2 separate regions of the Homo sapiens genome follow, and region 2 is linked to region 1. The links are contacts of gene promoters, found by promoter capture Hi-C in human tissues and cell types (Jung and others, 2019). All regions are on one chromosome and are shown on one strand. The core of a region is centred on a gene start or on the middle of the fragment in contact, and the rest is flanking DNA. Distances in the headings are between cores, read along the strand shown.

Evidence for each region. The method cuts DNA at HindIII sites, captures the fragments that hold promoters and counts their contacts. A contact is called where the count stands out against the background at its distance.
Region 2: a contact is called between the fragment with the promoter of PEX11A here and the fragment with the promoter of ZNF710 in region 1, in 1 of the 25 tissues and cell types used here (lymphoblastoid cells).

What each region holds. Positions count from the first base shown.
Region 1 is chr15:89,996,477-90,002,575 of GRCh38, forward strand. It overlaps ZNF710 (zinc finger protein 710), which reads left to right and starts at 4,848. Exons shown (of 5, transcript NM_198526.4): 1 at 4,848-5,138. RefSeq lists silencers at 4,300-4,469, 4,878-5,046, 5,462-5,961 and an enhancer at 5,661-6,099. The HindIII fragment of the contact is 12,330 bases long and covers 291-6,099 here.
Region 2 is chr15:89,688,151-89,695,199 of GRCh38, forward strand. It overlaps PEX11A (peroxisomal biogenesis factor 11 alpha), which reads right to left and starts at 2,604. Exons shown (of 3, transcript NM_003847.3): 1 at 2,427-2,604. The coding sequence starts at 2,482. WDR93 (WD repeat domain 93) reads left to right here and starts at 2,661. Exons shown (of 17, transcript NM_020212.2): 1 at 2,661-2,707. It also overlaps the pseudogene RPL36AP43. RefSeq lists an enhancer at 2,439-2,528. The HindIII fragment of the contact is 14,807 bases long and covers 809-7,049 here.

The DNA.
Region 1 (6,099 bases), core at 3,598-6,097:
ACCTCCATTTACTGCTTTTGTATCAAAAAAGCTGATTTCTTTCTTTCTGGTGTGAATCTGGAGGATTCCTTGCTGGGTTTGGGCAAGTCAGGAGATTTGGCTAAATAGTGATGTCTGCAAGCTTAGGGCCTCACTGGGACCTTCTAACGTTCACATAGGCTTTGAAATTTACAAAATACAGTATCATACATTACACATCATATATTATCGGCTTCCACTTCTCCCAACAACCCTAGAAGGTGGGCATTATTTAAGTTAAAAAGGTGTCACAAAAGGAAGTGGGTCACCTGTCCAGACAGGTTCTCACAGGGAGGTAATCTGTAAGAGAGGAAATTGGTATGGAAAGTGGAGGAGACTCTAAAGAGGGGAAAACATGTTGAAAGAGAATTCCCAAAGGGAAACCCTGTCTACACATTCTGGCTCAGACACTCCATGGTAGTGACCTTAGGAAGTTTTTAAGCTTTTCGGTGCCTCAGCCTCCTCCTCTGTAAAATGATAATGACACCTACCTCAAATAAAGTGCTTAGCCCAGCCTCGCACTAAGGTGGCTGTACAGGTATGTTTATCAAAGCAGGTTCATAAAAGCGAAAAACCTGCAAACATCCCATGAGTCTAACAATTTGTTTAAACAAATTAAGATACACACATACCATGGAATAATATCATTCACTAAGAATGACAATGTGGGCTGGGTGAGGTGGCTTATGCCAGTAATCCCCACACTTTGAGAGGCTGAGGCAGGAGGATTGCTTGAACCTAGGAGTTCGAGACCAGCCTGGGCAACATAGCAAGACCCAGTCTGTACCAAAAAACAAAAAGAAAAAATACAGCCGAGCATGGTGGCACACAAATGTAACCCTAGTTACTCGGGAGGTTGAGGTGGGAGGATGGCTTGAGCCCAGAAGTTCGAGGCTGCAGTGAGCTATGATCATGCCACTGTAATCCAACCTGGCTGACAGAGCAAGACCCTGTATCCAAAGAAGAATGTGGATGTTTACAGACCAGAAGATAATTTGTGACATATACCGGGTGAAAGTAGCTGCAATTCAGTAGGTGTAGTGTTATGCCATTTTTGTTAATTTTGTAAAAATAACATGCTTATACATAGAGTCATCATTTGCTTAATGATATTGACTTTGTACAGTTTTATTATGGTGTGCACTTACATGTAGCCACTAGGATATAAAATGTCCAAGGATATACACCGAAATATGTCTCTAGATAGGGTTCGTTTTCGAATTCTTTCACAATGAACTTGTGTTGTAAAGAAATAACAGAGGGCTGGGCGCAGTGGCTCATGCCTGTAATCCTAGCACTTTGGGAGGCCGAGGCAGGCAGATCCCCTGAGGTCAGGAGTTTGAGACCAGCCTGGTCAACAGGGCAAAACCCTGTCTCTACTAAAAATAAAAAAAAAATTAGCTGGGTGTGGTGGCACATACCTGTAATCCCAGCTACTCGAGAGGCTGAGGCAAGAGAATCGCTTGAACCCAGGAGGCGGAGGTTGCAGTGAGCCAAGATCGTGCCACTGCACTCCAGCATGGGTGACAGAGCGAGACTCCCACTCACGAAAGAAATAATAGAAGTGTAAAATGTTTACAAAGCAGGAACTGGAGCTGTGGTATCTGCCTGGATCCTTGAGGGCATTTGGCTGGTGCCAAGTTCATGTGCAGGTCACTTGGAGAACCAATAATCCAACCAAAGGACTAAGAGGTTTTGGGAGCTTTAAATCACGTTGTGGAGAAGTCAATAATCACCCCCTATCCCTCCCCTGCTCCTCCAGTGCAAACTTCTGTGATTACGTCTCTCTCCTGAGCAAACATAGCCAGGTGCCTGCTCCCAGGGGCCTTCCTGGATTTCATGAGGCCCATCCTCTCCTGATTCCTATTTGTTCCTCAGGCAGGCTACAACTCTGCTGATCAGGCTGGGCCTTGATAACCAGTCATCAAGCTCTGGTCATGTTCCTGAGAAGCCACCTGGCCATCTTGATCGGATGTGGTGTTCACCAATCCCAGCCTCCCAGTGGGACACTGGTCATCTTTGAAGGAATGCTTCCCCCTCAGTCAGCTCATCATGTTTCTGGTGTGGTGAGTCACTCTGGTTTCAACCCTGAACGTAATCTTATTTCCAGGTCATCGGGGCACTACCCAGTCACTCCCTGATTTGTAGTAATAGTAAATAAAAGCTACCGGGGATTGGTGCTTATGTACCGGACACCATGCTAGGTGTGGGGTTTGAGCCTCACAACAAACTGTGAAGCAGGTATTTTTATCCCTATTTTACAGAAAAGTTAGAGAGGTTGACTTGCCCAGGAATATGCAGCAGGTAAGCCTGGGCCCTTAAACTAAGACACTGTCTCTGCAATCCACAGGTCTTCTTACCTGCATTTTATATGTCCCGAAATTAAGTCGAAGTTATTCACTGAAGTTATGTTATTCATTTACATTCATGAAGTTAGCAAGTGGGAGGGGCTAAAATCTGAATATTTCCCTGACACCCTCCCCTTTTTCCCACTTGTGCTCTATCCTCACTCTCCCCCCACCCACTTGTATTCTAAGCTGCAGTAAACACTTCAACTCTTGACAGTTCTAAGAACCTGTAATAATGTGCCGTCTTGCCCTGGGGCCTTTGGACAGACTGTTCTCTCCCATGCATTTGGCTAGCACAGCCTAATCTAGACACGACCTCCTCCAGGAAGCCACACCTGACCACCTTAGTCCAAGCACCCTCTTAGGAGCTTTCTTGGTTCACTCTTGCCTGTATCGCATGGCACTGAGGTTGCTGTCTTCTTTTCTTGCTCCTTCGCCTGCAAAGCCAAAGGCCAAAGCAAGGACTGCGTCTTGCTGATGATTCGGTCCTCAGCAGCCAGCACCTTCGCCGGCACGGGGTAGGTACTCAGTAGGCATTTGTTAAGTGCATGCTTGGCTCTAAGAGCTGCATTCTGCTTTTTTGGAGGATGCAGCTTGGGTGTACTAAGTGGGAGGCTGCAAGTGATGACGGAAATGTGGTTTCCTGCAGACCTGGGCAAAGGCCCTGGGGTCATTGGGGGCTCAGGGTGCTGATGTTAAAAGACCATGGTGTCCTTCTTGTTGAACCAAACTCTCAGGCTACTGTTTCCTCACTCCTCGTCAGAGACAAATGTGTTCTGAGTGACTGGAGTCATAGCTCAGAGCACCAGGAGCTGGTTTAGGGTGGGGCGAGGGGCCGTGGCCTTGGGGCTCTCGTTTCTAAAGGCCCAGGGCTCAGGGCTGGGGGGAGGGGTGAGGAGTGGCAGGTCGTGTCCCCGGGAGGCTGCAGTCACTGGGGGAGAGACAATGGGGCTCAGCATCTGCTCCTCCCTGGGAGAAGGGACCCTTCAGTGAAAAGCCAGGGAGAGCAGGGAAGTGTGGGAGGAATTGATGAGGAGAAGGGGTGGAGCCAAGGAGATGCAGCCGGGAGGAAGGAAGGGAAGGGAAGGAAGGGAAGAGGGAGGGGAGAGGATCCAGGCTTTCCTTCCTCCCGGTGACCTGGTCCTGAGCCGCAGCTTCCCTTGCATTGTTCCCTGAGTTTGCTCTCGGGGCCCACCGAGACCTCACGTTTCTCCCCCTGGCTGCAGCCCCAGTCCGAGGGCCCGGCATCCAGCAGGTGCTCAATACTTACTTGGGAAAATGACAAATGTGACCAACTTTGCTTTGGGAACTTTCCCCCGTCTTCTCCCCACTCCTCCGGAGAACCCGAGGACAGAGCAGGTCTTGGGAGCACGCCCGGGCGCCCCATGAATAATTGACCCTTCCTGGCGGCACTGCCCGGCTCTGTCCGAGGGCTCCGGACCCGCCCTGCGTTGCAGTCGAGAAACGGCTCGGAGTGGCGGGTGTTCTGGAGGTTGGAGGCCTGGTGTCCGGCCTGCGCCGGAGCTGGAGGGCGGCGAGGCTGTGCCAAACCCCGCGGCCCCTCAGGGAGCCGAGAGGGACCTGACGGCCGCGCTGCCAGCGACCACGCCTCGGCGCCCCCCAGCAGTGCGCCCCGGGGCCGAGGCCCAGGCCCTGGGCTCGGGGACCCCGCCAGCCCGCCGATCCCAGCAGCTGCCCTGAGCCCCTTCTCCACCCGGGCCCTGGCGCTCGGAGCCCGCGCCGCTCCCTCGAGTCAGGCCGTCCAGGGCTCTGCTAACAGCTGTTTAAAGGCTTTTGCTGTTCAGTGCTCTGCGGGGATGTTTGTTCCAGGCCCATCTGCCTACTTTAAAAATACATAAGTGAAGCACACACACCCAGCTTGCCACCTCTGGCTGGGGAGGGGCGGGCTCGGCGGCCCTCGCTCGCACTTGGGAAGGAACCGGCACCCAGGAGCCGCACCCGTGCCCCAACACCCGCACCGGCTCTCCTCTCCAGAGGACGCCCCTGGCTTCCCTTGGGGGGGGCGGGGCGCAGGGCCCCCGGGCCCCCTTTGTACCGGACAGGGCCGGGCCCCCCATTTCCAAGCGAGGTCTGCCTCTTCCCCGCTTCAGTTAATCTTTGTTCCCCTTTTCTGCTGAGAGGAGAAAAAAAAAAGAGAGAGAGAGAAAGAAAGAAAAGAAGGAAAAAAGGCGTGACTTGATTTTCAAACGAAACTCCCACAGCAAACAAAACCCTTTTAGAGAAATAAGAAAGGAGGAAGAAGGAAGAAAAGAGGGAAGAAAAAAACAGGAGAAAGAAAACCCTTCAGGCTTTCAATTCGAGTGGGAGAGTTGAACCGAAAGAAAGAGAAAGAAAGGAAGAAAAATCCTCTGCGGTAGAAAGAGAAAAGAAAACTTGGGCTGACAAGAGGGAGGTGTTGGGGGTGGAAGGAAGTGAGAAAACAAAAGAGAGATAAAAGGGCTGCTTTTCTGTCTCTCTCTTCCTCTGCGAGCTGGCTTAGGAGGAGCTGTTTTGCATCCCTTCACGTCAGCCCTGCCTCATTCCCTTCTTCCAGGGAGGGAGAGAGCGCGAGCGAGAGAGCGAGCGAGAGGAGGGGGGAGAGAGAGAAAGAGAGGAGCCGGAGGGAGGGCGGCAGGAGCAGGCGGCGGGCGCGCGTGGAGGCGGGCGGCGGGCGCACAGCAGCAGCCCGGGCGGTGGGCAGCCAGGAGCCCCCGGCCCGGCCCGGCCCGGCCCGCCGAGGGCCCCAGCGCAGGAGCCGCGCCCGGACCCAGGGTGAGTGTCCCGCGCGGCCCCCCGCCCCAGCCCCAGCCCCAGCCCCGCAGCCCCGCGCTGCCGGCCGGCGGGGGCGCGGGGGGCGCGGGGGTGGGTCGCTGCGGCCGCGGCCGACCCGCCCCCCGCCTCTCCCTGGGGACGGCCGCGCGCAGGCCCGCGCCGCGCTGCAAACATGTCGTCTTTTCCTTTCACTTCCACATTCCCTCATGCCGGAGAGCTGGAGGGAGAGAGGGAGAGCCGGGGAAAGAGGGAGAGATGGCGTCTGGGGTGGGGGGGAGGGAGAGGAGGGGGAGGGGGAAGGGAGAGGGAGGGAGCGAGCGAAAGAGGGCGAGAGGGAGGAGAGCGCGCGAATGAGAGAGAGAGAGAGAGAGAGAGAGAGAGAGGCAAAAATGAAAGGAAAGCGTCGCGGCGGCGGCGGCGGCGGCGCGGGAGGCCCGGGAGGCGACGGTGGCGGAGGCTCTCGGGCCCGCACGTGGGTGTCCCGGTGCTGGGTGCGCTCCCCCCACACCCGGCCCGGGACTCAAAGTTTCACCCCCTCGCCGCCCCGCCCCTACGGCTGCCCACAAACTTTATTCTCGGAGCGGGTGGGGTTGTTGCGCGTCCCAGCCGGCCGGGGGTGGGGGAGAGCTGAGCGCGCCGCTGGCGGGGCTGGGGGCGTCCCCGAGGGCCACTGGCCGCCGCACGCTGGGCGCCGCGGGATCTCCGCCGGGACAGCGTCGGGGCGCCGCGGGCCGGGGACCCAGGACCGGCGCTCGCTGTCTGGGGGCGTGGGGGTGGGGGTGGCGGGCGGGGTCCCTACGGCCCGTCTTGAGCCTCCCGCGGCTCAGCCCCCCTTCCTCCTCGTCGCCCTCTCTCCGTCTTCTCGCGGTCATTTTCCTAATTGGATGGAGCTGTGGGGCGTGAGCACCAGCGTCAGATCGGGGCCCTCAGGCTACCAGGTGGGCGCGCGGGCTCGGGGACC
Region 2 (7,049 bases), core at 1,354-3,853, 310 kb before region 1:
TACAGAGAATCCTTGCTCTTCTTGTACTATGTCACTTTGTGGGGTTGGTGCTTGCCACACTTCTTACAGTCTGACAGGTTTTAGGAATGTTCACCGTGTTTGCATGAGCATTATTGGCACAGAAAGCAAGGTATTATTTTATGAATGCCAGTGTGGTCATAAAGGTTATACAGATCATCAAGGAGGTTGGGAAATGAATGCTAGAGATCTCAGATCTTTTGGAATAAACATATCTTAAATTATTATTATTATTATTTTTCGAGACAGAGTCTCGCTCTGTTGCCCAGGCTGGAGGGTAGTGGTGCGTTCTTGGCTCTCTGCAAACTCCGCCTCCCGGATTCAAGCGATTCTCCTGCCTCAGCCTCCTGAGTAGCTGGGATTACAGGCATGTGCCATCACGCCCAGCTAATTTTTGCATATTTAGTAGAGATGGGGTTTCACCATGTTGGCCAGGCTGGTCCCGAACTCCTGACCTCATGATCTGCCCACCTCAGCCTCCCAAAGTGCTGGGACTACAGGTGTGAGTCACTGAACCCGGCCTAAATGATGATGATTATTATTTTTAATGTTTTTATTTTTTTTTTAGAAGGAGTCTCGCTCTGTTGCCCAGGCTGGAGTGCAGTGGCGTGATCTTGGCTCACTGCAAGCTTTGCCTCCTGGGCTCATGCCATTCTCCTGCCTCAGCCTCCTGAGTAGCTGGGACTGCAGGCGCCCACCACAACGCCCAGCTAATTTTTGTATTTTTAGTAGAGACAGGGTTTCACCATGTTAGCCAGGATGGTCTCGATCTCCTGACTTTGTGATCCGCCCACCTCAGCCTCCCAAAGTGCTGGGATTACAGGTGTAAGCCACTGCACCCGGCCTAAATGATTATTTTTTTAACCAACTTCCTTGATAAACCCTGCAGGGTACATTCTAGGTACACTGGAATTACAGGTTTCTATTTAATGAAATTTCTATTTAATGAAGCTTGTATATAAAGTAACCATTTAAAAAACCTATCAAACTAATGAGAAAGCCAGTATAGCTTGGTAGTTAAGTGGGCACTGGAGTCATTTGCGTGGATGTGAATCCCTCAGTTCTGCCATTGTAGTACCTATTAACCTCTTTCTGCTTCAGTTTCTCCATCTGAAGTGGGTAAAATATTTAGAGTATCTACCTCATAGGGTTGTGATGAGGGTTATATAAGTTCATAGTTGCAAAACACTGGGAACAATAGCTGTCATAAAGATGGCTTCCAAAAGCCTCATTATTGGGGCCATTCTAATTGATCTGTTTGTATCAGCACTTGCACACCCAGAAGAGAATGCAGAGCTGTTAAATAAAACTGCAACTGTAAATATTTTTTCATTAAGCAAGAATCAACCAAATCTCTAAAACATCATGAACTAGTACTGTATTCGTATTAAAGATACAATCTCTCAGTTCTTTTCGTTTCTTATGGAACCAAAAGAAAAAGAGACACAATCTCTGTTTAATATTTTCAGTAGCACAGCATGAACCTTAGAGGTGCAGTTAGTTCTTTCTGAGCTTCTCCCCACTGTATTTCCCCCCAATCCAGTTGGTGTGGTCTCATCCCCGCTATATTTTGTTTTACAATTTACAAAACTATTCCACATGCAGTATCTCAATGATACAGCCTGGGTAATAATGGAAGAGAACTTCTGTCTCTCCTCAAACATTTCAAGAGGTATTTGAGACCGGGCGCGGTGGCTCGCACCTGTAATCCCAGCACTTTGGGAAGCCGAGGTGGACAGATCACCTGAGGTCAGGAGTTCGAGACCAGCCTGGCCAACATGGCGAAACCCCCGTCTCTACTAAAAATACAAAAAGTAGCCGGGCGTGGTAGTGCACGCCTGTAATCCCAGCTACTCAGGAGGCTGAGGCAGGAGAATCGCTTGAACCCGGGAGGCAGAGGTTGCAGTGGGCCGAGACCGCGCCACTGCCTGGGCGACAGAGCGAGACTCCGTCTCAAAAGAAAAAAAAAAGAGAGATATTTGAAGTCACACCAAGTGGTTTGCTTCCCTAGCCACAAATACTAATCCAAAGTTTCTCTTTAAAGGAGATCCCTCGGAAGAATGTTGAGTGGAGAGAACCAATCTTTCTGTGCCCGGAGAGCAAAGTTAGGAGGGGAGGAGGATCTGTCAGCCGGTGTCCCGTCGTCGGCGGTCTCGAGGCGGCTAGGGTGCCAGGCACTGGGGCTTTCGTGCACGGGGCTAGGACGGGACGCGGGTGCGTTGGGCCCACTCACGTTGAATTTAGGGTAAGGAGGGGCTCGGATACTAAACTCCCTCCGTAGGAGCTGGCAACGTCCTTCCTGCTTCCATCTACTAGGCTATCACCTCCTTTTTCCCGGGTGCAGGGGAATAGGCACGGGAGCCGAGTTAGGGCGAGAAAGGGGCGGAGGCCGCTGGCACCTGACTCACCTGAAGAGTCGGTCCCGGCCCTGGGTCTGGTTGGTGAAGCGGGTGAAGGCGTCCATGGCTTCTAGCCCAAAGGCCACGAGTCGCACGGGGCTCAGGCGTGGGTCCTCTGGGGCCCGTCGGATCCCCAGGGAACGGTCAGTCCCAGGTTATCCGCTGAGGGGGAGGGGCTGAGTCTCTCCGCCCCAGAGGGGGCGGGCACACTTTCTGTAGAGCAACTTCGCGGACTTCCGGTTCAAGCCGGAAGTTGTGGTTACCAAGGCGACGCAACGCCGCCCGGCCAGGTGAGCAAAACTGATCTTACCTTTGGATGCCGGGGCTCCCCTCGAGTCCCAGGACTCCCCTTTACCTGTAGAGTCTCCTAGAGGAAAGTCTGAGGGGGTCCGTCTCCCCAGACTCGGGCGTTTCCGGATGCCTGACGCCTCCCCGCAGATCTCAGGTTCTCAGGAACCCGGGGTGATATCCCGAATGGTCTCTCCAGCCTCAGAACTCCCCTGAGCTCTTGCTTGGGACGGTGGGGCCTAATCATTTCCCAGCGCCGTGCCTCTTTCCCTTGAGCTACACCAGCTCTATGTCTGGTGAAGGAAGTGGTTAGGTCAGAGATAAGCCAATTTCACAGTGTGAACCTAGCATGGGAGGCGGATGAAGTGAGAAAATGTTCTGCTTGGATTATTGAACATTGAAAGAAGATTGTTACCTGAGGAAATCCTAAAAGAGTCATTATGAGCAAAGTGAAGCAAAAATAGATTGCAATGAAATTGCACCGCTGAACATTCGTTCTGTGCGGCTTGAAGAAAAGGAGCCTTACCCACTCCGTGGCAGTAATTTTATAAAATGTACCCTCTATAACCACAAAATAAGGTCGGCCGGTGCTGTGGCTTACGCCTGTAATCCCAACACTTTGGGAGCCGAGGTGGGCGGATCACCTGCGATCAGGAGTTGGAGACCAGCCTGGCCAACAGGGTGAAACCCCGTCTCTACTAAAAATACAAAAAAAGTAGCCGGGCGTGGTGGTGGGCGCCTGTAATCCCAGCTACTCGGGAGGCTGAGGCAGGAGAATCGCTGGAACCCAGGAGGCGGAGGTGGCAGTGAGCCGAGATTGTGCCACTGCTTTCCAGCCTGGGCGACAGAGCGAGACGCTGTCTCAAAAAAATAAAATAAAATAAAATAAGGTGAACATTTTCGTAATCTTTATTCCCTTGGTCAGGCCAGCTCCTAACATTTGCAGGCCCTGGGTAAGAGTACAAATGGAGTCCAGCACACCGTATGTTTAAATATTTTAGTTATAAATCAAGCAACAAATTGTAAAGTAAAATATAGTCTGTTTTCCTACATTGACAAATAGACCCTCATAATGATGTAGAAGGCCAGGTTCATCTTCAGAATCCCTAGACTCCTTAGAATACCTGGAAACACAGCTGGAATATGGCAGTGTGGGGAGAAATGGCTCCCAGTCTTTTCCCACTTCCCTTTCTTTTCTGGTTTCTGGTGCCCACCTGCATTCCCTGCCAGGAGCCTTGTATACCATCCTGATACTCCAAGCCACATCCAACGTCTGCCCGTACCTCTGCAAGCAGCCATGCCTTTGCCACCTTTTCAGATCGAGGAGTGCTCACATTAGCAGCTGGGTCTGCCCTCAGGTGAAAGCTGAGAAGGGCTCATGCAGGCCATGGTGTCATTTGGGCAGTAAATTCCAGGGGTATTGGTACCCTGAACATGGTCTAGACTCCAGAAGAGGGAAACTAGGCTTTGGGTGAGCATATCTCCTTGGCCCCATGGGTTACTCATTTTTTGTAGAGGAAAGAGCCTCGAAGAGAGCCAGAAGTTTTCTCTAAATACGTGGCCCAGGTCAGGGCAATTCTGCAAGCAATGAGAATTTATTGAGTCCTGGCCATATACCAACCACTGTGCTAAACTCTAGTCGTAGGGTAATAGGTTAACAAGGAACACAGTAAACTGATAAGTACAACACAGAGATATGTTAGATGATAGAGGTGAGCACAGGGTGCTTCTAAACACAGATGTGTATCATCTGTTTTTTGTTTTTGTTTTTGAGACAGAGTTTTGCTCTTATTGCCCAGGCTGGAGTGCAATGGCGCAATGTCAGCTCACTGCACCCTTCGTCTCCCGGGTTCAAGCGATTCTCCTGCTTCAGCCTCCTGAGCTGGGATTACAGGCATGCGCCACCACGCATGGCTGATTTTTTATATTTTTAGTAGAGATGGTGTTTCACCATGCTGGTCAGGCTGGTCTGGAACTCCTGACCTCAGGTGATCCACCTACCTCGAGCTCCCAAAGTTCTGGGATTACAGGTGTGAGCCACCACGCCTGGCCTCATCTGTTTTTTATACCTACAATTCTGCCTTTTTCACAATATCATATAAATTGAATCATATAGTATGTAGCGTTTTCTTTTCTTTTCTGATTTATTTTACTTAGCATAATGCATTTGAGATTATCTATGTTGTGCACATCAGTAGTTTGTAATTTTTTATTCCACAATGTGAATGTATTATAATTCATTATCCATTCACCCACTGAAGTACATTTGTGTTGTCTCTAATTTGAAGCCATTATAAATAAAGCTGCTATAAATATTTAAGTACAGATTTTGATGTGAAACATAAGTTTTAATTTTCCTACTGTAATATGCAGGAATGTGATTGCTGAAACATATGGTATGTTTAACTTTGTAAGAAACTGCCAAACTGTTTTCCAAAGTGGCTATCCTATTTTGTATTACCACTGACAATGCGTGAGAGCTTATCTGTTTGCCTGTTGGTGGACATTGGGTTGTTTCCACTTTGGGGCTCCTACAAATAAAGTTGTAATGACTGTTCGTGTACAAGTCTTTGTATGGACATATGTTTTCAGTTCCCTTCTACCACTCCTAAGAGTGGAATGACTGGATATGATGGTAGATAATGTGTTTAACTGTCCTGCAGGGGACAGGCCTATGCAAACCTACCCCTAAAAGTCTGAGAAAGCTGAGAGGCCAAAGCAAGAGGCTGACATACCCAGTTTCTCAGAAACAAACATTTAATAAATAAATACAATTTAAACAAACAAACAGAAGCCATGTCTCAGGAGCAAGACAAGATGGTGGATCCCTGCCATTATCCACCAGACCCAGGGTTTCTGTGCTATAGAGAAAGGTGCTTCAGAAGGAATGTGTAAGATAATTGCTTAAGGACAGAATTTATGGCAAGAATGATAACATCAAGGTTGTTTTGACCTAAGGGCAATATTTACAGTAAGTGGTGCTCTTACACAAGGAATGAGTCAAATGGAAATCTTAGAGGTTTTTCTGGAACTGGGGATAATCAGAAGTTAACATGGAGGATTAGCATCTAAGATGGAGTTGCTTTGGCCTCCACATTAGCGTTTTAAGAAATTGCCAAACTGTTTTCCAAACCAGTTGTACTATTTTGGTTTCCCAATAGTGTGTATGAGCATTCTTATTGTACATCTTCAACAACACTTTCATGGTCTATCTTTTTAACTTTAGGCATTTTAATATACGTGTAGTGGTATCTCATGATTTTAATTTGCATTTCACAAATGACTAATGATGCTGAACATCTTTTTATGAGTCTATCTGCCATCTGTATATCTTCTTTGGTTAAGTATCTGTACAAATTTTTTGCACATATTTAAAAATTGTTGGGTTATTTCTTTTTTTTTTTTTTTTTTTTGAGATGGAGTCTCGCTCTGTCGCCCAGGCTGGAGTGCAGTGGCACGATCTCGGCTCACTGGTTTCACACCATTCTCCTGCCTCAGCCCCCCGAGTAGCTGGGACTACAGGTGCCCACCGCCATGCCCAGCTAATTTTTTGTATTTTTTAGTAGACATGGGGTTTCACCATGTTACCCAGGATGGTCTCGCTCTCCTGACCTCATGATCTGCCCGCCTTGGCCTCCCAAAGTGCTGGGATTACAGGCGTGAGCCACTGCACCCGGCCGGGTTACTTCTTTTATTACTGAGTTTTGAGAGTTTTAAAAATACTCTGGACAAAAGTACTTTATCAGATAAGTGACTTGCACATATATTTTCTCCCCATCTGAGGATTACCTTTTATTCTCTTAACAGTGTGTTTTGAAGAAACACAAGTTTATTTTTGAAAAGGTTTAAATGACCAGTTTGTTCTTTTTAGGTTATACTTTAATGTCATATCTAGGAAATCTTTGTCTAAGAGAAGATTGCCAAAGTTTTCTTCTAGAAGTTTTATAGTTTTCAGTTTTACATTTAGGTGTATGATTTTACTTTGAGTTAATTTTTGCATATGGTGCAAGGTATGGATCGGCATTCATTTTTTTCCTATATAGATATCTAATTGCTCCAGCATTATTTGCTGAAAAGAATATCCTTTTTCCACCGAATTGTCTTTGTGCTTGTGTCAAAAATAAGTTCTCCATATATGTTTGCATCTAATTTAGGACTCCCTATTTGATTTCATTGATCTGTTTGTTTATTTTGATACCAATACCACACTGTCTTGAATATTGTAACTTTGTGATAAGTCTTGAAATTAAGTAGTGTTAGTCCTCCAATTATGAGTTGTAAAGTTAGCTTCTTAATTTCTGGAAAAAAAAAAGCCACCTGGGATTATCATAGGGATTGTGTTGA